Linked DNA regions of Homo sapiens: all the other regions are linked to region 4. Evidence: promoter capture Hi-C in human tissues and cell types (Jung and others, 2019). All regions are on one chromosome and are shown on one strand. Each heading gives the region's core, a stretch centred on a gene start or on the middle of the fragment in contact. The rest is flanking DNA. Distances are from core to core; before and after follow the strand shown. Region 1 overlaps GALK2 (galactokinase 2). Region 2 has its middle 9.6 kb from the start of ATP8B4. Region 3 overlaps ATP8B4 (ATPase phospholipid transporting 8B4 (putative)). Region 4 holds the start of FAM227B (family with sequence similarity 227 member B). Region 5 overlaps ATP8B4 (ATPase phospholipid transporting 8B4 (putative)). Region 6 overlaps GALK2 (galactokinase 2). Region 7 overlaps ATP8B4 (ATPase phospholipid transporting 8B4 (putative)).

Region 1 (3,299 bases), core at 300-2,799, 340 kb before region 4:
TGCTTGTAACTCAAGGCTGCCACCAGTTAATCTACTCTATTTCATGTTGATTGCCTTTCTCTTACGCTTCCAGAATGATACTCAGGTCTGTTTTTCTCATGTGTCTAGCTTTTTCCCCTCTTCTATTTTTCTTCATTGTTAAGATGAGCTTTCTCAATTCCCTAGTTATTGGAACCTCATTTCCTGCTCCTATCCTAAATCACTTCATCTCATGCATTTTTATAATCTCTTGTTGGTTTTAAACCCAAATCATAGTTCTCTTACCACATATATTCACAGTCCCTCTTTTTATAATTTACTCTTTGGTATCATTTTTCCTGTCAACATTTTTGGGGCTTCAGTGGTGGGAAAAAGAATGTTGCCAGTAAGCCAGGAATGAATTCCTTAGCTGGATACCGCTTCCCCTTGGCTATCAACTCCTTTAGGCAGAGCAGAGGTTTTAGTTGTTGCTCATAAGCTGCTCATTTCCAAAATAGAGCAAACATTTCTTTAAAACATTTTCTTAGTTTTTCATCAGATTCCTACAGGCTTGGCTATTTTCCAAGAACACCTGGATTCCTTCTTAGTAAGAATATTTGTTATTGATTCCCCTAAGCCAAAGACATGAGGCATGAGGAAATTTGTTTTAATACTAAGAAAATACTTTGGGTGTTTTGGATGAGACGCAACAGGCAGACATGAGGGCCAGAGTCCTGATGTTAATGTAAGTTAGCTATAGAGTCTGAACACAGTCTAAGTTCTTTGGGCTTACAAAACACTTCACCATCTGACCCCTGCTTTACCCTTCTATCCTAACCTCTCACCACTTCTCACCCCTCAAACTGTAAGCTCTAACCAAATTTCCATGCCCGTAGCTCCATTAACATTCCATGTTGTTTTTTGCCCCTGGACTTGCCTAAGTTCTTCCCTCTTCTTGACATGCTTTTTGAGGAAAGAAACCCTCTGTCTGCCCTACTTTTTTCATCTTTTAGAACTCAGTTTAGATTTCTCTTTTTCAACTGAGTGGAACCTACAGTAGGCTGTACTGATGAGATGCTTCAGCTATGTATCCATATAGCATCTGTGCTTTGCTACCATTGTAACACAACTTGGAAAGGTATTTGTCTGTCTACTAGACTGTCTTTCCCACTTGATTGCGGGCTCTATGAGAGGAATGACAGTGTCTTTCCTGTTCACTGTTGTATTTCCAGTGCCTAGTACAGCGCCTGGAGGTCAATAAGTAATATTTGAATGAATGAATGCATTTTTGACAAAACACTTTAAGATAAATACATAAACACTTGAACATTTTCTGCATTCTAATAAATTATATTTCTCCTTTCATTTTTCTTCTAACAGGCCAAGTTGATAGAATTTAGTCCTCTGAGGGCAACCGATGTAAAACTCCCAAGTGGAGCAGTGTTTGTGATTGCCAACAGTTGTGTGGAGATGAATAAGGCAGCAACTTCCCATTTCAATATCAGGGTGATGGAGTGTCGGCTGGCTGCGAAGGTATGAACTTGGCAGGCTAGTGAAACTTGAAGTAGGGTTTTTCTTGTCTTTATTTTCATTGTTCTCTATTACTTTATCTCTTTCCCCAAATTTTAGGGCAACATTCTGACTGCACAGCATTCCAACTGAAGGTCTTTGGGTACAGAGAAATCTGATTTCTAACTCAGAAGACAGATGAACCAGTTGAGTCTTCTGGGGTGGCACTGGGAAGAAAAGGGCAGCTTATATATGTGAAGCAGAATTATAGGTTAGGTCTATGGGTGGAGAAAGATAGTTGGGGACAATTGATGGGAATGACCACAGCTGGTCTTGTTTCCTCAACAAAAGTGATGGCAGCCTCACCCCTCCTGGTCCTCTAAGATGCAGTTTTTTTATTGGGTTATCATTCGTTACTCCAAAAATACAGGATTGGTGAAGTCCCCCCAGACCCCGTACCCAGAAAGAAGATTTTTACATGTCTACTAGGGAAACACAAACCAGCAGGGAGTCTTGGAAGTCTCTCTTTAGAAAACTGCCACAGTTAAACCTTAAATCTATTTAGGTAGTATTCATTGACTAGCTATTGTAGTTCTAGCGGCATGAAGATATACAAAGGGACATAGGACATGGGACTAGAGAGAGTGGACAGTAGAGTTAAGAGTTCAAGTTAAGGGATTATGAAACAGGAAATGGTTAATATGTGATCAGATAGTAAGTAATCCAGTGATCCAACAAGTGACACAGTAATTAAATATTATAAATAATCCAGAATAGCTCATAATACGACTAGAAAGTTGGAGAGAGGACTGAGGCTGGAGGCTAGGAAGTGGATTCTGGGTCAGGAGCTCCACTGTGCTTTCTTCCACTCTTGCTTTGATCTCCTGATGGATACTGATGGATATCACCTAAGACTTATGATCAACCTTTACCAGGTCTTAAATACAGCCTGAAATCTATTTTCTCAGTAGTAATAATTTCATACCTTCTTTACTTCTCTCAAATACCCATTACTTGATTCAGCCTAACTTCCAAAAGTGATTTTCTCCCATATTTCATGTTGGAAATAGATGTGGTCACATAGACTTTGGCTTCCTGTCATCATATCTGTATGTCTCTCTATATCTGCATCTCCTGTCAAAGCCAGCCCTTCCATGTGTGGCTGCAGGGAACTCACTCCATCTTTAACTTGTTCCTCGCCTCTATTTCTCTACTAAATCCTTTCTATCAGACTCCACCTATTCTAGTATTTTGTATTAGAAAAGTCTACCCTAAGCCTCACAACTCTCTCCATCTACTATTTCTATTTCTACTTTTTCATTCTCTTCACAGCTAAACTTCTCAAAAATTGCTTTATATATGTTATCTTTACTCCTCTACCTCCCTCTTATTCCTTAATTTACTAAAATCTCACTTCTGCGTTCTCCACAATGTTGAATTTGCTCTTTCTTAGGCCACCAAAGGTTTTTTCATTGGTAAATCCAGTGGATGCTTTTCAGTCTTCATCTTATTTCTCATTGTTATTTCTTATCTTTCAACAGAGTTAACCAGTCTTTCCCTCTTGAAATATTCTCTTCCTTAGGTTTCCAGTATACTTCACTTCCTGTTTTTTCTTTTCCCCCTTATATTTTTGTTGCTATTTCTTTTTAGTTTTAGCCATTCCCTCCACCGACCCACCCTGGGCAGGGATGAAGGGATGGCAGGAATTCACTCCTCCTCCCACAGATGTTTAAATGTTGGTGTTCTTCAAGGCCTTGGCCTTGGTCGTCTTCTTCTTTCTAGTGGTCTTTCTTCTGTTGGTCTCATGCCCTCAGCTTCAACTTCCATCTCTA
Region 2 (3,454 bases), core at 484-2,983, 510 kb after region 4:
TTTTTAGGTCAAACCAATAGCCTCCATGTATTGATTTATGGCTCTGCCTGGAACCTCTGCCTCCCTGCCTTTAAAAACTCTTACATGGAAGCCATCAAGGGGTTTGGGTTTTAAGATTAGCTGCCCAATTCTCCTTGCATAGCACCCTGCAATAAATGCTTCACTTTTCCTCACTGCAAATCAATCCCAGTGTTAGTATTTGGCTTTGCTGCATGGGCAGGCAGATTAACTGACCCATGTTCAGTTCAGTAACAATGGCCTTCCTCTACTGTGACTTGGGCTTCCATTCTAAATGGCTTGAGTGAGTCACAAACATACATCCCACAGCAATCGTGAATGTGGAGAGCAAAGGTGAGTTTGCCATCATCTCAGTATATCAGTCAATGTAATTTCTAGGTCCTAATGGATCAGAGACCAGGCAAAGATTAGGCAAGAATTGAGTCATGGAGGCCTCAAATGTTGCCTTATACACACTATCTCTGAGGATAGCAACCTAGACGCATTCTCTCTTAGATAAATAAACTGCTGCAGCTTGTGCTATAATACCGATTGCAAAGAAATTGATCCTACAGAACTAGAAGACTGCACTGGAGCAGGAGGTTAAAGCATCGGATGGCAGGAGGGAGATAAAACTGTTCAAGGCAGCTCTAGGACCATCCTGTCCTCTAGAGATATCCCATTATACATAGGGAGAGGAACAAACACCAGTAAGGTCTGTCTTTGAAGAAATATTAATTTCAGATGAACAATACCAAGGTGTGCCTCACTGTGGTTCTGCACACATCCCCACCAATGCTGAGCCATCTTTAGGTAGAGTGTGCCCCAGTCTCAAGGCCCAGGAGCTACAGCAGATGAGCAGATGATGGAGCTACTTCTTGTGCAACCCCATGTTTCTGTGCATTTCAGGGTAAGGAAGGTGCTACCTTCAGAGCTTCTCTTTTGAGTAAGCCAGTGTTTCGTTTTGTATCCAGTCTGTCAAGGAAAGAAGGAATTAATATCACCCCAGAAAAGCAGGAGGAACACTTATGGAGTTAAGTCATGCCAGAGACCAGCGAAAGAAGGGGAATCATGGAGACAGACACCAGAGTCCTGGGTTTTCCTAGCTTCAGAGCTAAACTTCAAGAGGGAGCTGGCTTTAGAAACATCCAGAGAGTTGGAGTCACATGGAAAATCTAGGCTAAGCACCCATTTCCTTTGGGTCTGAAGGGTGCCCTTCTCCATCAGAGCATCAGATCCAGCAAAGCTGGGAGCAGTATGGAACACTGGAGGAGAAAGGTGGCTGCAGATGCTTGAGGCTATGTTCCTGCCTCCTTGTGGCTGATGAAGGGCAAGGCCTGGGCCAAAATGACAAGATCTGCTTGTGCAAAGAGAATCCAGAGGACCTGGCATGGATCCAAGGCTCCCACTTCCCTCTACTGTCACAGAGTCACACAGGTTCTCTGTGATGCCATTCTGGAGAGAAGCAGGAGAGGAGAGGGACACCCAAAGGCCCTAAAAAAGACTAAATAATCAAAAGCTTATTTGAACTGGAAAAGACTGTGGTTGGTAAATTGATCAGTGGAAGGTTTATTGGGGATTATTTTTCCCTACTTACCCTTTGGAGTGTGTGAGTTAGTGAAAAAGGACAGATCCTTTGTAAAAAGTTAAGTAGGCTGGGCGCAGTGGCTCATGCCTATAATCCCAGCACTTTGGGAGGCCAAGGTGGGCGGAGTTCGAGAACTCACAAGGTCAGGAGTTCGAGACCAGACTGACCAACATGGTGAAACCCTGTCTCTACTAAAAATACAAAAATTAGCTGGGCCTGGTGGTGCGCACCTGTAATCTCAGCTACTCAGGAGGCTGAGGCAGAAGAATCACTTGAACCCGGGAGGTGGAGGTTGCAGTGAGCTGAGATCGCGTCATTGCACTCCAGCCTGGGTGACAGAGCGAGACTCCGTCTCAAAAAAATAAATAAATAAATAAAAGTTAAGTAGCCACATTTTTTAGGGCATATAGGTAATAGTGTGAGTAAATTGTGACCCCAGCTACCTCATGTCCATCACTAAATGCAATCTGTTTTTTTTTCTTGTTATCTTGAGGAGTCAAATTCATATCAAGAACGCTGTATTAGTTTCCTAGGGCTGGAATAGCAAAGTACCACAAGCTGGGTGGCTTAAAACAAGGGAAACTGATTCTCTCACAGTTCTAGAGGCTGGAAGACCAAAATCAAGGTGTTGGCAAAGCTGGTTTCTTATGGAGGTTCTGAGGGAGAATATGTTCCATGCCTCTCTTCAGCTTCTGGTACTTGCTGACAATCTTTGGCATTCTTTGGCTTGTAGACCCATCCCTCCACACTCTCCCTCTATCAACACATGGCATGCCCTTTGTGCGTCTTCTCTGTTTCTTCATGTCTTTATATGGCCCTCTTATCAGGACATGATTAGATTTGGGCTCCATTCTAATCAAATATGACCTCAATCTTAACATCTGCAAAGACTCCATTTCCAAGTAAGGCCACATTCCAACATTCCAGGTAGACATGAATTTTGGGCCACACTATTCAATGCAGCACAAATGCAAAAGGGGATTTTAATTAATGGCCAGTATTGAAATTATGTGGTAGACTAGGTCAAGAGATCGAGACCATCCTTGGCAACATGGTGAAACCCCGTCGCTACTAAAAATACAAAAATTAGTTGAGCATGGTGGCACGTGCCTGTAGTCCCAGCTACTTGGGAAGCTGAGGCAGGAGAATCGCTTGAACCCAGGAGGCGGAGGCTGCAGTGAGTCGAGATGGTGCCACTGCACTCCAGCCTGGTGACAGAGCAAGACTCTGACTCAAAAAAAAAAAAAAAAAAAAAAAGAAAGAAAAGAAAAGAAATTACATGGTAGAGTACTAGGGAGATTTTCATTTGCTATAAAGAGATCTAGAGGTCTCCACCACTTGGCCAGACTAGACTTCTTTGGTTCTCTACTCTATATGAATGTTGAGGCCTTTTCACAGCCTGCATAGATGCCCTTTCCCTGCCTTGTTTACCTGGCTAAATTTTCCACATCTTTCAGGTCTTAACTGCATTCTCACTTCCTCTAGGAACCCTCTTCAGAGAATTTTAAGAAATCAGAGCTTCTCTGGGCTCCCATGATATGCTGCCTTTCCCCATCATGGCACTTGCCTTGCTATAATCACACCTGTCCACTTGTCTGGGTCTCTAATACCTGAGGGTAGCAACTCAATTTCCCACTGGTAGCACTGGGCTTAGCACAGAATGTAAGAGCCCAGGACTCCTGTGATAAGATTACCCAGGCTCTGGTGAGTAACTGAGTATTCTTATATAAGTCACTCAACTTCTTGGGGTCTCAGTTTCTTCATCTAAAAAATAAGAGTCTTGGCTGGGTGCAGTGGCTTATGCCTGTAATCCCGGCAGTTTGGGAGGCTGAGGCGAGCGGATCACAAGGTCAGGAGATCGAGACCATC
Region 3 (3,542 bases), core at 183-2,682, 410 kb after region 4:
ATAGCCAGCAGCGATGTGCACAAACACACAATATATGAATACTTCTCCTTGCCCCATATTAGTTACAGGGAAGAAAAGAGGAGTCTAAAATATATTCTGCTTTTGCCCCAAGAGGCTTTATTTAATTCACTTTAGTGCATTTTGCCCACTATCATGTAATTATTGCGTATCAACTGCATGGGAATATGGAGATTGTCTCAGCCTCAAGTAAGTCACAGCAGTAATAGGAACAGACAGACAAGTATAGCAATAGGCAATTAGCCTCTCCCCATATCTATCTTGACCCCTCTGCATTAGCTTCTTCCCATGCAGCAGGTATGAGATTTTCCAAAGACAAACCCTTCCACACAATCTCTCTGTTATGAGGAAAAAGACCCAAACTCTTAATGTAGCCTTGAAGGCCCTGCAGGGTCTGGCCTCTGATGGCTTCTCCAGCCCTGTCTGCCCCTGCTCTTCTCTCCGCCTTATTCTCTGGACTTCTGCCAATCAGTCCCTCATAATCACCATCCTCCTTCCCCTCCACAGGACCTTTGCACATGATTTTCCCTCTGGAATTCTTCTCATCCCATTGCTCCAACTCCTATTACCACCTTTGCCTAGTTAACTCCTAGTCATCATTATGTTTTCAGCTCAAATGTACTACTCCCTTAAAGAATCCATTCCTAAACTGCTTCACCTCACCTCTACCAACCCCCACAAAAAAATACCTGTCTTTAGAACCACACTCTTTTCCTTAGCAGCATTTGCCTTGGTTTGTAATTATACACTACTTAGCATGGCTATTTTATTATCTACTTCCCTGACCAGACACTAAGCTCTGTGATTGCAGAGAACATGTCTGTTTGGGTTGACCTGCATTTGCAGAATATAGCTCAATGCCTGGCACACAGGATTCACTCAATAAAGATTGACAAGTAAATGAAAGGTAAGGAGACCATTATGATACTATGTGTCATGATATAATAGAGTGCTATTATCAAGACAAAGAAAGATGGTGGGAATATGATCAGGACATTACCCTAGTAGCCTCATGCTTTGAATTGTCTCCTGACACCTTTTGCTACAATTTCTTCCATCTGGAATACAATTTATCTCCACTGTTGGAAGACCCGATGATTAAAGTTCTTCTTCCTTACCTAATCCATTTTGTAACTTTCAGATCCTACCCTCCTTGTTCCACTGTCATCTCTACTACTATTACTATCAAATCCATCCTCATACTTTCAATATTCCATTTGCTGTTAAATCTTTTTATCAGGTGGAGTCACTGACTCCCCTTCTTTGGCTCCTCACCATCACACCAAAGCTGAAGAGGATCACAGAGTCACTGTACTTAAAGCCTGAGAGGAACCTTGAAATATCTGGCCTAGTGGTACTCAAACTTCAATGTACATGAGAATCCCATGAAGTGCTCATTAAAAATAGAGTCCTCAGTCCCAGACCCAAAAAGTTTGATTCAAGAGGTCCGGGAAAGAGCCCAGGAATCTGCACCTGGGTGATTCAGATGCAGGTGGTCCTCAGACCTCATGTGCAGAAGTACTGACCAGTGCTGTGATGCTTGTGGAGGCTCCTCAAGATCTACCATAAAGGGTGAGAGGGCAGCCGAGAGCACCTGCTCTGAGCAACTGCACTATACATAAGATTTCATTTGAAAAGGGTTCTGCTTATTGGAAAAAGAAATGTTTGAAAATGACTGGTATCCAATATCTTTGTTTCATAGATGAGAAAACTCAAGTCCTTGGTCCTCAGTCATGTAGCCAATTCATGACAGAGCAGGACTGAACCTCAGCCTCCTGACACCAGGCTAGTGGACTTTTCCCAATGCCTTCCTGCCTTGTGGGGTAGAAAGACAACAGAGGTTCTCACTGCTGTGTTGCCCAAGAGTCTTACAATGAGTAGCCTGCATATGAAGATGGTACTTGTGACGGACCACATTGCACCAGAGCACATAACTGGAGGGACAGGAGATGGTGGATTTGGGCTCATTTTTCATCCAGCATATTCTCAGCCTCCCTCTTCAATAAGCCTGTAAAGACCTAGTAATCCTCTATGGCCTGAACTGTTCCTGGGTTCTCCAATGCTCTCCCCACCCTCTCACCCCACCATTCCATTAGCTGTTCAATGGCTGACCTTTGCTGGGGGGCCAATTCTATCAAGGGTTATTCTGAGACAATGAAATCCCTGCCACTAGCCCTCCAAAACTAGTATTAGCCATCCCTACCCCATATGTGTGCACCCAAAGCACCCAGTGCACCTGGAGCACCTCATACTTCCTTGCACCTACTGCTGTCAAATAAGAGTCTGTTTATTTGTCCATCTCTTCCCCTAGACCCCAGACTCCTTGAGGGCAGTGACATGGGTCCTAATAGTCCATGTGTCCGTAGCATCTAGCACAGTGGCTGGTACTCAGAAGTGTTATTTAAATATGGGATGGATGGGTGGATGGATGGATGGATGGATGGATGGATGGAAAACATGAATCCCTGCTGCTACTCTCAATGTTCCTATAAAACCTCTATCATATCCCTGAGGAAGCCCTAGTACATGCTGATTGACACTGAGCCAGCTAGATTATCTGAATGAAATTCGTCCCGTTGCCAACAGAGCCCCTTAAATCTCCACTGCTGTTTGTGTGCTCTCCTCCATGAAGCCCTCTCCAAACTCAATTCCATTTCTCAATACTTAACTTTTTTCTTTCCCCCTGCAACTCCATCATACTGGACTGAACACTGGACATTAAGCAAATTTAAAATCCAGTAAGTGTTTATTGTGAAGGAATGCTAAGCTTATGGAAAATGTACTTTATTGCACCATAGACAGTAAGTTCTCACTTAACGTCGTGGATAGGTCCTCGAAAACTATGATTTTAAGTGTAATGAAATGTAACAAAATCAAGTTTTTCCTCACCCATGCTATAATGAAATGACTTTGAACTCAACAACGTTATTTGAGGACCTACTGTATACTGTTTCACTTGAAGTCACAGTTTCCAAGAACCTATCAGCAATGTTAAGTGAGGACTTACTGTATTCTCCATTAGAAAATACCATCAACTTTCTTCACATCTTCAAAATCTATTCTTTCTCCATCATTAGAGTCCATTACCTTCCTTCTACAATATTCAGTATCACTCTCAATTATATTTCCCAGGCTTCCTCATCTCACAGCTCTTCCACAATGTCACTGCCAGAGTCTTCTTTCCATATGTTGCTGATGATGTTACTTTTTACAGCCCCCAAATTTCCCAGGTCCTTTTGAGTCCTTAGATCTAATTTAGAGATCATTACTCTTACTTTCTATGCTGTCTGCCTCTATCTTTTCCTTTTCCTTCCAGTATTGCACATCTGATTCTTGTCAAAGATCAGTAAGCAGAGAGAATTAGAACATGCCTAACATGGAATAAGGAAATAGATCTCAGTATTTTAGAAAACTGGTCAAGTTTAAAAATGTTCCAGTGTTCCTGAGTTACAGCTTCAAAGCACCATTCCCAACTAGGCTCCCAAAACCTACCAAGGTTTTCTACCACCAGGCATTGTTTCATC
Region 4 (3,427 bases), core at 580-3,079:
AATGTGGCCAAATTGATACATGTCATTTTTAGAGTTAACCTTGGGTAATTTGCCATACTTTCTTTCTTGTCAAACAAGCTAGTCCTAGAAGGCAGCAGAACCATTAAAAATAAAAACATCTGGCCTTGAATTTAACATTTCGTCTGCCTAGAAATAGCCACAATGGATCTTTTGTGAGGAAAAAAAAAAGTGTATTAAACCACCGATATTTTGGGGTTTTCTGTTACAGAAGTAAATTCACTATGCTGGTTTTAAAACATGGACAAGAAATCTTTGCCAATCCTTTGAGAAGAGGGATCTATGTCTCCTTTCCTAAAATGGAACAGGACTTTGACACATTTGTAAGCAAAAGAAAGTGGGGGAAGTAGCACCGCGTTACTTTTTGAGGCAAGGTCAGAAAAGGTCAGGCAATTTTTGCCTTGTTCATTGCAACACTCCCTTTGGAGCTCTGAGTTTAAGCTAAGAAGTCTGACTACCTTGCTGCCATACTGTGAGGAAACCCCGGCCATATAGTTACAGAAGCTCTGCTAGCATGCCCACTCTAGTCTTTCTAATTGAGTTACCAAAGAAAAGCTGATGACTATGCCCTATTGACAACACCACCTGTGAACATAATAAAATGGTTGTTTTAAGCCACCATATTTTGGAGTAATTTATTACATACGATAGCAACCCAATGCTCAATCTAACAAGTAGTATTATTTGCTTTTTAATCTGTGCAATTTAACTACTTTGATAAAATTTAGAGTTAAACTAAAAAGGAAAATGGTTGTGAATTCTTCTTGGCTTATAGACTTTGCTATTCTACTTTCCCTACCCAGAAAATTCACCTTTCTCCCTAAATCACTGGCTTTCAAACTTTTTAAGGTTTGAAATACAGTAAGAAATACATTTTACAAACAAGCCCTAGTGCACACATACACGCATATATACAATTAAAAGCTCCATAAAGCAGTACTTTACTAACTAACACTAAATTTACTTACATGCGCTGATATTTCCAATCTATATTGTTTCTTTTTTTTAAGTTTAAAGAGATTTCCTTGCTTACAAATGGGTCAAGACCTCCACTAATGGGTCCCACACAATCCCCTTTCCAGTTGAAAAACACTGTCCTAAACCTAAATCATTCTTCAAGGCCTTACCCAAGTCCGAAAAAGAAGCCTTTATTGACCACTCCATTCTCAGCTTTCTTGAAATTCCTGTAATTTATTAAATTCCATTTTTTATCTCAGTAGTAAGAATATTGCATTTTCTGTACTTGAATTTAACATGCTTTACTTGATATCGTGAGCACTTCTAGGGCATTGTAATGTCCTTTATCTACCACTTGATAAATTCAGAGTAGTCAATAAAACATTGCTCAACATTTGACCATTGTGTTTTAAAATCTTAGTTGTTAGAGTGCACTTCCGTTTGCGCATTGTTTGGGGAGAGGCACGGACAAATGTTCTAATAACTTATCCACATATTATACTTCAAAGTGGAAAAACACAAAGTACTCTTAACTCTATATGCGTGTTTTTATGCAAACTAAATCATTAAGATACAAATGATTTTTCTAATAGCTTTCATTACCACACAGCACACGAAATAATGATATTGATATAGCCACGAAAGACTAATGTAACCAAGTTCTCACAATCAAAATATCTTTGAGGTGGGCAAAATGCAAACTTTTCTCTGGGATCAACATTTCTTCACAACTCACTGCAACTACGCCTTGACAGTATGTTTCGAGAACCGCTTCCCAATTTTGTTGTCCCAGCAAGAATCGGGAGGAAACTGGGTGAAAGGCTGCGAGGCTTGAGGCGGGTCCCGGACGAACGCGGCCCTGCCCCTCGCCGGAGCCTCTCGGGAGAAGTGCGACACCGCCGCTGATTGAGAGGCTGAGGCGGAACTTCCCGTCTAACCCCCCCCCCGCTGTCGTCCCAGCCTGTTGCTTAAGCCGCGCGGTGTGCGGTGTGCGCGGCCCCTGCCTTAGCAACGACGCTAGTAACTGCCTGGCTCCTCCCTCTGGTGTCTCCCGGAAAGCGCTCCGTCTGGTCCGTGCGCGATCACGGCCCGGCGCGTGGCTCGGGCTCGGGCGGAGCTGGAGACGTGTGGAGCTGTTCGAGGACTCGCGGGTGTGCAGGTCTGAGTACCACTCCGATCCCTGGTGGAGGTCCCCGCGCCTCTCTGGAGACCAGTGGTCTGGCCCCAGAGGTGCGGCCGCGGGAAGTGGACATTCTTTGTCAGGACCCTAGCGGAGGTCGCGCTGGGTGTCGCCTGTGAGGGGGATCCTCGGTTTCTGCGCGGTCTCTTGCTTTTTTTAGGATCTTGCGGGCCCTTTGGGAAAAAGGTTTCCAAATTTTTCCTCAAAAAAAAAATTATTTTTCCTACCAATGATTTTCGGTGCATTCCGCCCCAACGAAAAGTATGTCCTGGCAAAGTCAGTTCCCTAGGAACCCCATACTTTATTTTATTTTATTTTTAGTATTTGGAGTGGTTTGTGGGGGTTTGGTTATCACGGAAGGGGAAGCGTAGTACAGACGTAGAATTAGTGATGCCATGCAGTGTATTTAAAATATTGAGGTTGTGGTTACATAATAAGCAAAAGAGCCTGTTTCTTACGTCTAAATTATTTATTGGGAATGTAGGACAAATAAGGAAGTATATTAACATTTTCAGTCGCCAGGCCCACAAAGTTGGATGGTAAAATCAATACTGTAGATCGCAGCATGTAAGGACTAACCCAGTGCACCATGAAAACGAAGGCAAGACAGTTTGTTACCATATGGCGGGTGGTGTGGGAGAGGCCATTGATCCTATATGAAAAAGGGTACTACTACCTTGGATTATGAAAAATGAATGTTGGACCTGTAGGTCCTATGTGACCAAGTTCTTAAAAACACTCTAAAGAAAATTGGAAGTGGTTTTTTTCTAATACTGAATTGGTCCACAATATAGGACAGGGGAGTCTGTATAGTGTTCCATTGGGAGGTGAGTCAGCTTACAATAATGGAAGAGGTAGAAGCTTTTTGTTATTATTTTGGAGAAAAAAAAATTGCCAGCCTGCCACTTGTGCTAGGCTGCAGACGGCCCATAAAGGTAGTTTGTCAGATACTTCAGTAGTGAGATGCTTACTGGATGTGTTTTGCAGAATGGTTTTGATTTAGTTAACAAGTGTTTGTTGAGTTCCTGCTGTTGCATAAGAATCAGGAATAGGTGAGATCAGGGAAGGAATCTGCTCTTACAGAGTTGAATGCTGGAGGGGATAGATTCACTAAAGTACCTCCACAATAAATGCATTTTTCCATGTCAAATATGTGGAACTAATAATAAGTACTCAAAGAGGTTTAAGACATTGCTGTGGCCCATCTATGAGTTAATAAGGAACTGAATTAGAATCCTGACTTTGAGAGTGAAGATAGAGGATTATATACAA
Region 5 (3,242 bases), core at 384-2,883, 440 kb after region 4:
TTTCATTTATGCATGTGAAATAATCTCAAAATTCCAAGAGTTCCTGAAGGGCTGAGACCTTATACGTTTTTAAGTGTCTAGAGCATTTAACAAAGTGATAAGCAAGAATTACTCAATACGTGTGATATAGTTTGGATGTGTGTCCCCACCCAAGTCTCATATTGAAATGTAATCTCCAGTGTTGGAGGTGGGGCCTAGTGGGAGGTGATTGGATCATGAGGGCAGTTTCTAAGGGATGGCTTATCACCATCCCCCTTGGTACTGTCCTTACAATAGTGAGTTCTAGTGAGATCTTGTCATTTAGAAGTGTATGTCACCTTCCCACTCACTCTCTTGCTCCTGCTTTCACCATGTGATGTGCCTGGTCCCCCTTCACCTTCTACTATGTTTGGAGGCTTCCTGAAGCCTCCCCAGAAGCAGATGCTGCTATGCTTCCTGTACAGCCTTGTAGAACTGAGCCAATTAATCCTCTTTTCTTATAAATTACCCAGTCTCAGGTACTTCTTTATGGCAATGCAAGAACAGTCCAAGACAACATGGCTGATAAACCCAATTGGAAAAAATACAAAATAATATATGAGAGGAAGACAATTCCACTTATGAGAAAATAACATGAGCTAATATAATTTTTCATAATTAATGATGCATCACAATAATTTTCAGTACATAACCTATAGAACTTCTTTTGCCAGAGAAAGATAGGCATTAGCACAAATATAGATTTTTCACATTATTTAGCACAACATGCAGTTTATTAATTTTCTCATATCAGAGTACAAGGGAGAAAAAAAATCAAATATTCCTTTAGCTCATTTTCTCACCTAGAAAAGCATTTCTTTTTCTGCAAAGCATTGCAAAGAAGTTCAGCTCATTTGTGCTTCTAACCTCAAAATCGTCTTTCTTAGGACAATGGCGTTTTTGTGGTATTGAATCTACAAGAGTCTTTGAAATATCACACATGGTACTAAGTGGTTTGCAAGAATCATAGGAATATGACTTGGGGAGGAATCTTCAAAGTTCAGTTATTCATTCTATCCTTCTGCTTCCATACATGTAGAAATAATCTAAACCAGCACTATAATAGATGTCTTTAAAAAAAAAAAAAGCCTTTCTGCTTATTAAGACAGAGAGCAATATTACTACATAATTAAACAAAAATTGGGCTGCCAGCAAAGACAGTTCATTATAGAAATTGGAACTAGCTAAGTAAACAAAATGTAATGATTAATGGCCCAACAGCAACCTATAGGGAGGTCTCTAGTGATAAGACGCATGGCCATGTTCTTCATTGTGTTGTGCTCAGTATTTTTATTATTAACTTAGATCAGTGATTAATCCAGGTTGCCCATTAGAATCACTAGGGGAGCTTTAAAAAAAAAAATGCCTGGACTCCACCCCTAAAGCTTCTGATTTCATTGGCCCATTTGTTTAACTATCAATGACAATACAGAGAGATGCTAAAGTCCACATAGATACAATAATAAAAGGAATAGTTTAATGACAGAGTAAGTGCCTATTATGTGCCAACAAGCCCTATGACAAGCAAGATATGGAGATAAATGTGACACGGTTCTTGTCATTAACAATAAAAATAAAATTAATATGAGATTAATAGACTCAACAGTCACTGAAAAGATAGTACAGTCTTAGACTGTATTAATAATCTTTCTCTACTTCAAGATGGTCAAATAAATTCTAGACTATTGTGTTTGACTTTGGAGGAACCCACTTGAAGAAGTTATAGAAAAACTGAGGCTCTTTGAAAAGAAAAGGAATAGCAGGTGATTTTCCTGGAGATCTGTTTATTTGATGAATTTGTGTTTGATATTTTAAACACAAATATCTGAAGTGTTGTTGCATGAAACAGAAGACATGTTTGCTCTGCTTTGGTCTCTGAAGAAAAGCTAAAACAATGGAAAATAAAGCAAGAGAATATCAATTTGGCTCAATTGATGGAAAAATTACCTAATGATTAAAACTACCCAAAGAAAGAAAAGGCTGTTTGGGGAGGTAATGAGGTCCCCTCTTCTAAAGGGATAAAAGCACAGACAGGACATGGAGTTGGTTAGAATTCTGTAAAGAGAGTTGAATGGAAAAGCTTTAAAGGATAATTCCACACTGAGATTCCACAGTGTATTGTACTGAAGCTAATTTCCTTGCAGTACCTAAGAAATCAGGTTTTTCCTTTTGTATAAAAAAAGCCCTTCTTCCCTAAACTTTTGGACAATTGGTACACAATGATGTCACCATCTATAACTTACCTAGATGACACCTGAACAGCCACATCTGTAATGATGTGAACTGACAACCAAGGAGGACACATAAAACCCAGTACAATCAGGACTGCTAGAGACACCAAGTCAAGGGTATCAGGAGCTAGAGATTTAGATCAACAGTCTTGGCATGTGACTCTGATTGCTGTCCTCTGCTTAATTCCTCTGAGAACAGTCTCTCATTATTCAAGCAAAAACATCCTTACAAAACTGTATACACTTCCTCACAACTACAACACTACCTCCGTGCACACAGTCATGCAATAGACACAGATTTATTGACAAATATATAGCCCAAGTCTTGGATCATTTTTAAAGAATTTTCAAGTTTAATGCCTAAGTAGCTTACTTTTGTAATAAACCTGCAAATTGTATACTTGATGTATTAGTCTATTCTCATGCTACTATAACAAAATACCTGAGACTGGTAATTTATAAAGACAAGAGGTTTAATTAGCTCATGGTTCTGCAGGCTGTACACAAAGCATAGAGGCTTCTGCTTCTGAGGAAGCCTTAAGAAACTTGCAATCATGGCAGAAGGCAAAGGGGAAGCAGGCACATCTTACACGGTTGAAGCAGGAGCAAAAGGGAGAGGGAGGAGGTGCTACACACTTTTAAACAACCAGATCTCAGGATAACTCACTGTCACTATCATGAGAACAACACCGAGGGGATGGTGCTAACCCACTCATAAGAACTTCACCCTCATAATCCAGTCACCTTCTACTATGCCCCACCTCCAACACTAGCGATGACAATTCGACATGAGATTTGGTGGGAACACAGATCCAAATCATATCATTTGATAATTGCTATGAGAGTAGATTTTAAGTGTTCTCATCATAAAAAAATGATAAGTTATGTGAGATAAGGCATATGTAAATCAGGTCGATTTAGCCATTTTGTAATTTATACATATTTCAAAACATTATGTTGTGTACTATAAATATATACAATTTTTATTTGTCA
Region 6 (3,243 bases), core at 347-2,846, 410 kb before region 4:
TCTTGCGACTTTACTGAATTTATCAGCTCTAAAAGCTTTTTATGGTTTTTAGGTTTTTCTACGTATAAGATCATGTTGTGTACAAGTAGAGACCATCTGACTTCCTCCTTTCCAATTTGGATGCCCTTTACATTTTTCTCTTGCCTGATTGCTCTGGCTCAGACTTCCAGTACTATTTTGAATAAGAGTGGTGAAATTGGGTATGCTTGTCTTGTTCTAGTGCTTAGACAAAAAGCTTTCCATTTTTCCTCATTTGGTATGACATTAGCTATGGGTTTGTCATATATGGCCTTTATTGTGTATTGAGACATGTTCCTTCTGTACCTAGTATGTTAAGAGTTTTTATCATGAAAGAATGTTGAATTTTATCAAATGCTTTTTCTGAATTGATTGTAAAGATTATATGGGTTTTGTCCTTCATTCTGTTGATGTGATATATCGTATTTTTGGATTTGTGTATGTTGAACCCCTTCCTTGCATTTCTAGGATTAATCCCACTTGATCATGGTATATAATCTTTTTATGGGCTCTTGGGTTCATTTTGCCAACATTTTATTGAGGATTTTTGATTATATGTTCAACTGAGATATTGTCCTGTAGTTTTCTTTTTCTGTTGTGTCCTTGTTCAGTTTTGGTATCAGAATAATGCTGGCCTCATAGAATAGTTTCAAAGAATTCCCCGCCTTTCAATTTTTTTGCAAGTCTGAAAAGAATTGGTGTTAGTTCTTCTTTAAAGGTTTGGTAGAATTCATGGGTGAAGCCCTCTGGTCCTGAGCATTTCTTCGTTGGGAGACTTTTTACTGTTGCTTCAATCTTGTTACTTGTTATTGGTGCGTTCAGGTTTTCTATTTCTACCTGGTTCAATCTTCTTAGGTTTTATGTGTCCAGGAACTTATGCATGTCCTTTAGGTTTTGCAATTTGTTGGCATAATAGTTGTTCACAATAGGCTTTAATGATCCTTTGTATTTTGTGGTGTCACTTGTAATGTCTCCTTTTCTGTTTTTTTTAATTTTATTTATTTGTGTGTTCTCTTTTTCTCAGTCTAGCTAAAGATTTGCTATTATGTTTACCTTTTCATTTCATTAATTTTTGTCTCAAATTTACTTCTGCTCTGATCTTTATTATTTCTTTCCTTCTACTAATTTTGGATTTGGATTGTTTTTGCTAGAGATGTACCATTAGGTTGTTTATATGCAAAATTTCTACCTTTTTTTTTAGTGGCTGATTTATTTTATTTTATTTTATTTTATTATTATTATTTTTTTGAGATGGAGTTCTGCTCTTGTTGCCCAAGCTGGAGTGCAATGGTGCGATCTCAGCTCACTGCAATGTCTGCCTCCCAGATTCAAGTGATTTTCCTGCCTTAGCCTCCCAAGTAGCTGGGATTACAGGCACCCACCACCATGCTTGGCTAATTTTTTGTATTTTTAGTAGAGACAGGGTTTCACCACGAAGGCCAGGCTGGTCGCGAACTCCTGACCTCAGGTGATCCACCCGCCTCGGCCTCCCAGAGTGTTAGGATTACAGGCGTGAGTCGCCGTGCCTGGTCTATTTTATTTTATTTTTAACTTTCGAGATGTAGTCTCGCCCTGTTGCCCAGGCTGGAGTGTAGTGGCACGATCTTGGCTCACTGCAACCTGCACTTCCTGGACTCAAGTGATTCTTGTGCTTCAGCGTCCTGAGTAGCTGGGATTACAGGCATGTGCCACCATGCCTGGCTAATTTTTGTATTTTTACTAGAGACGGGGTTTCCCAATGTTGGCTGTCACACACACACACACTCACACACACACACACACACACACACACACACACGGCCTTTTCATTTCTACCACATGGCTGGGCTTCAATTTTTCAAACTTGTTCACTCTGCTTCCCTTTTAAATATAAATTCCAGTTTCAGGTCATTTCTTTGCTTATGCATAAGAGCATAGGTTGTTAGAAGCAGCCAGACTACATCTTGAATGCTTTGCTGCTTAGAAATTTTTTTCACCAGATATCATCACTCTCAAGTTCAAAGTTCCACAGGTCCCCAGAGCAGGGGCACAATGCCTCCAGACTCTTTGCTAAAGCATAACAAAAGTGACCTTTACTCTAGTTCTCAAAAAGTTTTGTATTTTCATCTGAGACCTCTTTAGCTGGGACTTCATTGTTCATATTATTATCAGCATTTTGGACACAACCATTCAACAAGTTTCTTGGAAGTTCCAAACTTTCCCTCATCGTCCTATCTTTTTTCTGAGCCCTCCAAACTGTTCCAACCTCTGCCACTTACCTAGTTCCAAAGGTGCTTTCACATTTTCAGGTATCTTTATAGCAATGCCCCACTTCTGATACCAATTTTCTGTATTAATCTGCTCTTGCACTGCTATAAAGAAGTATCTGAGACTGGATAATTTATTTAAAAAAAGAGGTTTAATTGGCTCACAATTTTGCAGGCTGTACAGGAAGCATGGCTGGGAAAGCCTCAGGAAACTTACAAGCATGGTGGAAGACAAAGGGGAAGGAGGCACGCCGTACATGGCTAGAGCAGGAGGACGAGAGGGAGGGGAAGTGCTATACTCTTTTAAATGATCAGATCTCATGAGAACTCTATCATGAGAACCACACTCAGGAGATTGTGTTAAGCCATTAGAAACCACCTCCATGATTCAATCAACACCCACCAGGCTTCACTTCCAGCATTAGGTATTACATTTCACCATGAGATTTGGGTGGGGACACAGATCCAAGCCATATCATATGGGTCTAGGCATTGATCCCTTTCTTCTTGGTTTTCTAATTTGTTGGTATATAGTTGCTCATAATAGTCTCTAATGATGCCTTGACTCTCTGCTATCAGTTATAATATCTTTAAAAAAAATTATCTGACTTTATTTATTTGAATCTTCTTTATTTTTTACTTTTTCTTTTTTGTTTGAAATGGAGTCTCGCTCTGTTGCCCAGGCTGGAGTGCAGTGGCGCTATCTCAACTCACTGCAACCTCCACCTCTCAGATTCAAGTGATTGTCCTGCCTCAGCCTCCCGAGTAGCTGGGATTACAGGTGTCCACGACCATGCCTGGATAATTTTTGTATTTTTAGTAGAGATGGGGTTTCACCCTGTTGGCCAGGCTGGTCTTGAACGCCTGGCCTTGTGATCTGCCCACCTTGGCCTCCCCTCCCAAAGTGCTGGGATTACAGGTGTGAGCCAGTGCACCTGGCCTCTTTTTTACTTAGTGTGGCTAAAGGTTTTTTGATTTA
Region 7 (3,246 bases), core at 20-2,519, 360 kb after region 4:
GTGAGGAATAATTTGGAAATATTAAAAATAATGCAGCAACAAACACAATTCAGAACACTAAGGTAAAAAATGGAAAAATAAATCAAATTCTAGATCTGTTTCCCAAAAAGATTTGAGGTCCCTTTGAAGGAGAAACTAGAATAGCCCCCCAAAATACATCAGCAAGTAATTTAAACCTTTATTGTGTATTGTATACTGCACGTATGTAATATGTAATTTTTGTAAAGACAAGAACTGTCTTAAATGTTGTGTTAGATTTATTTCAGGTAATTACATTATCCCATGATAAGTGCCTTGTTCCAGGAATTCTAAGAATATAATCAACTGCTTTAGAAGTGGGTTATTAGATGATAAACAAATAAGAATATTGAAAAATATTGTTAAAGAAATTCCTTGTGGACAGAGAAAATGCTAAATAGAAGCAATTAAGTTTTAATTAAAGCTAATTTCTCCAGTGTTTCCTCTTCACATATTCTCCTCATGATTTTCAATCCATAGAGCCATTTAATATAGGAGAAAGGGGGAAATTAAAGAAAGGAGAAAAGGGAGGCACACCCAAAATTATATACCACTCCAGAAGTCAGGGAAGGACAGGCACATCCTTAAAAGACTTTTCTTTATGTAAAAGAAAAAAAGAAGCAATAATTGAGGTTTCATAACAATTCATTGTCTTAAGTTGGAAATTGTACTGCAGTATCCTATTCCTAGCTACTGCTGTGTATAGACCACCCACATTTTCTCAGAATCATTTATTAAAATCATATGAACATTGAGGGTGGGAAATATTTCTTTTATGGTAAAGATCACAAAGGCCAAATAGTCTGTAGCCATAGCACCCTGAACATACTTGATCTCATCTGATCTCAGAAGCTAAGCTAAGCAGGTCAGGCCTGGTTAGTACTTAGATGGGAGACTGGGGATATTTGGTGCTGTAGGCTTAAAAAAAACACACACACACATACACACATAAAGTTTGTGGTTGCTAAAAACTGAAATATGAAAAGACCAGTTAGGTGCTGAAAATGTACATTCCATTAGGCACACAAATGCACACAGACTAATAAGGAATCCTTTTTATGGATTATTAAGCATTTATGTAAATATAACCACAAATGTTTATATGCACATCCTGAAAGAATTTTCTACACTCAACAGCCTCCGTTTTCTTATCTCCCACTCGTTACTCAACCCAGTCTCTGGGCCAATCACAACGCCAAAACAGATCTGGTGTTATCATCAATATCCTCCATAACTTCTTGACTATTCAGCAACCTTTGACACTGTTGACTATTCCATCCTTTTGAAACATACTCTTCCTTTAGCTTCTGTGTTATAATATTCTCCTGCTTTCCTTCCTACCTCTTTGGTAGCTCCCTTCCTGTCTTCCATGATACTTACTCTCCCTTCCCTTTACCCAGCTACTAAAGACTGAGAATCCTTAAGACTCAGGCATAGGTCACCTTATCTTCTTACTCAATCTACCTTCCCTGAGCAATCTCACCTAAGACCGTAGCTTTGAGACCAACAGTTTTAATAATATAGACAAGATGTGTATCCCCAGCTCATGCTGTTCCTCTGAGCTTTAAATCTATATATTTAAACCTACGTATTTTGTTGCCTGTATATTTCCACCTGGATTCTTCTAAGGCCTCTCAAGTGGCCCTTGTCCAATCTGGCTTACAATCTTCCTCCAAGCTTCTTATCTCAGTGAGCATCATCACCATCCATCCAGTTGCGAAGGTTGGAAGAAACCTCAGTCATAGTTGATAACTTTATCATCCTCACCTTCAAGCCTGGTCATCAAAGCTTGTCAATTCAACTTTCTAAACTTTCTAAAAGCCTTCTGAATTTATCTACTTCCCTCTCCTTTCCTAATCTGAGGGACCATCACCTCTCAACTGTGAAAACCTAGAAACTTTGTCTCCCTGTATCCACTCTGCCCCCAAAACTAACCAATATTTTTCCTCCTTCCCAACCCCAGGACCTGCTGTCTATTTACAAACATTACAAACAGTGTTGGCAAGATTAAGCTTTTCACAATTAACACATATACACCCCACCTGTTTGAAAACTTACAATGGCGTCCCTAAGCTCTTAGGATAAAGACCAAACTTCTGGATACTGACCACAAGGTCTACCAGCATGGTCTAGCCCCTATCCATGTCTCCAGTCCCATATCCATCCCTATCCTCTGTGCTCTCCATACCCCATACTGGCCTTCTTTTTTGACCTCACTTTCCTTACTCCTGCCACAGGGCCTTGGCCATTGATATGATTTTGGCTTGAGATTAATGCCTCTTTCTCTCTCCTACCATACTGAAAATCATATGAGTGAAGGTACTGCATTTGTTTTTGTTCACATTTTTAATCCCCAATGAGTAAGTAGCATAATGCCCAGCATATAGTAGACATTCAATAAATAATTTGTAAGTATTTTAAGCAAATTAATTTTTTGAACATCTACATTTCACCTATAATCTCAGCTAATGCTTACAACAAACTAACAAATTAGGTACTATTATCCTCAGTTCACTAATAATGAAACTGAGTTTAAATAATTGAACTTGCCTGAGATTTCTCACCTAGTAAGTGTCAGAGCGAGAATTTGAACCTCGACATAAGTAATTCTAAAGTTCTTGGTCTTTACTATTTTCTAAAACTATATGAAATAGTCAACCAATATTTAAGACTGTGTCTCATTCAGGATCCTAAAAGGAAATAGATGACACATTGAACAAAGAGAATTGGAGGAAGTTTTATTTATAAAAGAACTCTTTACAAAAAGCATAGGTGGGATTATAGGGGAAACAAAAGGTTAGTGCATTAACCAAGGGCATGTAGCAAGCAAGCTGTTTCTCCACCTGAGCCAGAAGGGATGAAGGGAAGGAATGGCTACTGGACCCTAAGGGAAAGAGGTGACAGGAATTTGCAGCCCTTAGAGTAAGAGTGGCCTTCTGTTGATAGATCTGGCCAGCCTGAAGTTAGCACACAAGAATGCAGCCTGGAGGAGTAAATACCTTGATCGTAATCTCCTTCTTCCTTTTGATCTCTTCCTAGGGATCCCCGAGACAAAGCCCAACCAGAAGCAGAAGTACAAGGTAACCTATTAGTATAAACCATACAAATAAGCCTCCTAGGGCAGAAAGAATGGTAGAAAAAGGTGAGAGGAAATCTGGAGAGCAAACAGAAGACATCTAGGACAAAAATGCAGTGTGCACTCAAGATGGTACAGACTCCTAGAGACTG

The links. Contacts are between HindIII fragments. The study calls those that stand out against the background at their distance.
Region 1: a fragment that was not itself captured here is called in contact with the fragment with the promoter of FAM227B in region 4 in 1 of the 25 tissues and cell types used here (thymus).
Region 2: a fragment that was not itself captured here is called in contact with the fragment with the promoter of FAM227B in region 4 in 1 of the 25 tissues and cell types used here (mesenchymal stem cells).
Region 3: a fragment that was not itself captured here is called in contact with the fragment with the promoter of FAM227B in region 4 in 3 of the 25 tissues and cell types used here (lymphoblastoid cells, mesendoderm cells and small bowel).
Region 5: a fragment that was not itself captured here is called in contact with the fragment with the promoter of FAM227B in region 4 in 3 of the 25 tissues and cell types used here (IMR-90 fibroblasts, lymphoblastoid cells and mesenchymal stem cells).
Region 6: a contact is called between a fragment that was not itself captured here and the fragment with the promoter of FAM227B in region 4, in 1 of the 25 tissues and cell types used here (hippocampus).
Region 7: a fragment that was not itself captured here is called in contact with the fragment with the promoter of FAM227B in region 4 in 2 of the 25 tissues and cell types used here (IMR-90 fibroblasts and mesenchymal stem cells).

The regions. Positions count from the first base shown.
Region 1 is chr15:49,282,228-49,285,526 of GRCh38, forward strand. GALK2 (galactokinase 2) reads left to right here. Exons shown (of 10, transcript NM_002044.4): 7 at 1,339-1,491. Among named protein-coding and RNA genes, the nearest start is that of GALK2, 110 kb to the left of the region's middle. The HindIII fragment of the contact is 4,823 bases long and covers 1-3,299 here.
Region 2 is chr15:50,127,128-50,130,581 of GRCh38, forward strand. It overlaps a transcript of ATP8B4 not described here. Among named protein-coding and RNA genes, the nearest start is that of ATP8B4, 9.6 kb to the left of the region's middle. The HindIII fragment of the contact is 3,153 bases long and covers 158-3,310 here.
Region 3 is chr15:50,024,941-50,028,482 of GRCh38, forward strand. All of the region lies in intron 6 of ATP8B4 (ATPase phospholipid transporting 8B4 (putative)), which reads right to left. Among named protein-coding and RNA genes, the nearest start is that of ATP8B4, 93 kb to the right of the region's middle. The HindIII fragment of the contact is 4,438 bases long and covers 1-3,542 here.
Region 4 is chr15:49,618,989-49,622,415 of GRCh38, forward strand. FAM227B (family with sequence similarity 227 member B) reads right to left here and starts at 1,830. Exons shown (of 16, transcript NM_152647.3): 1 at 1,712-1,830. It overlaps DTWD1 (DTW motif tRNA-uridine aminocarboxypropyltransferase 1), which reads left to right and starts at 2,060. Exons shown (of 5, transcript NM_001144955.2): 1 at 2,060-2,134. RefSeq lists an enhancer at 2,172-2,291. The HindIII fragment of the contact is 10,713 bases long and covers 1-3,427 here.
Region 5 is chr15:50,061,994-50,065,235 of GRCh38, forward strand. The region is part of intron 3 of ATP8B4 (ATPase phospholipid transporting 8B4 (putative)); the gene reads right to left. Among named protein-coding and RNA genes, the nearest start is that of ATP8B4, 56 kb to the right of the region's middle. The HindIII fragment of the contact is 3,550 bases long and covers 1-3,242 here.
Region 6 is chr15:49,209,191-49,212,433 of GRCh38, forward strand. All of the region lies in intron 2 of GALK2 (galactokinase 2), which reads left to right. Among named protein-coding and RNA genes, the nearest start is that of GALK2, 41 kb to the left of the region's middle. RefSeq lists a silencer at 2,509-2,709. The HindIII fragment of the contact is 4,469 bases long and covers 1-3,243 here.
Region 7 is chr15:49,981,624-49,984,869 of GRCh38, forward strand. All of the region lies in intron 10 of ATP8B4 (ATPase phospholipid transporting 8B4 (putative)), which reads right to left. It also overlaps the pseudogene RNA5SP394. Among named protein-coding and RNA genes, the nearest start is that of ATP8B4, 140 kb to the right of the region's middle. The HindIII fragment of the contact is 3,413 bases long and covers 1-2,976 here.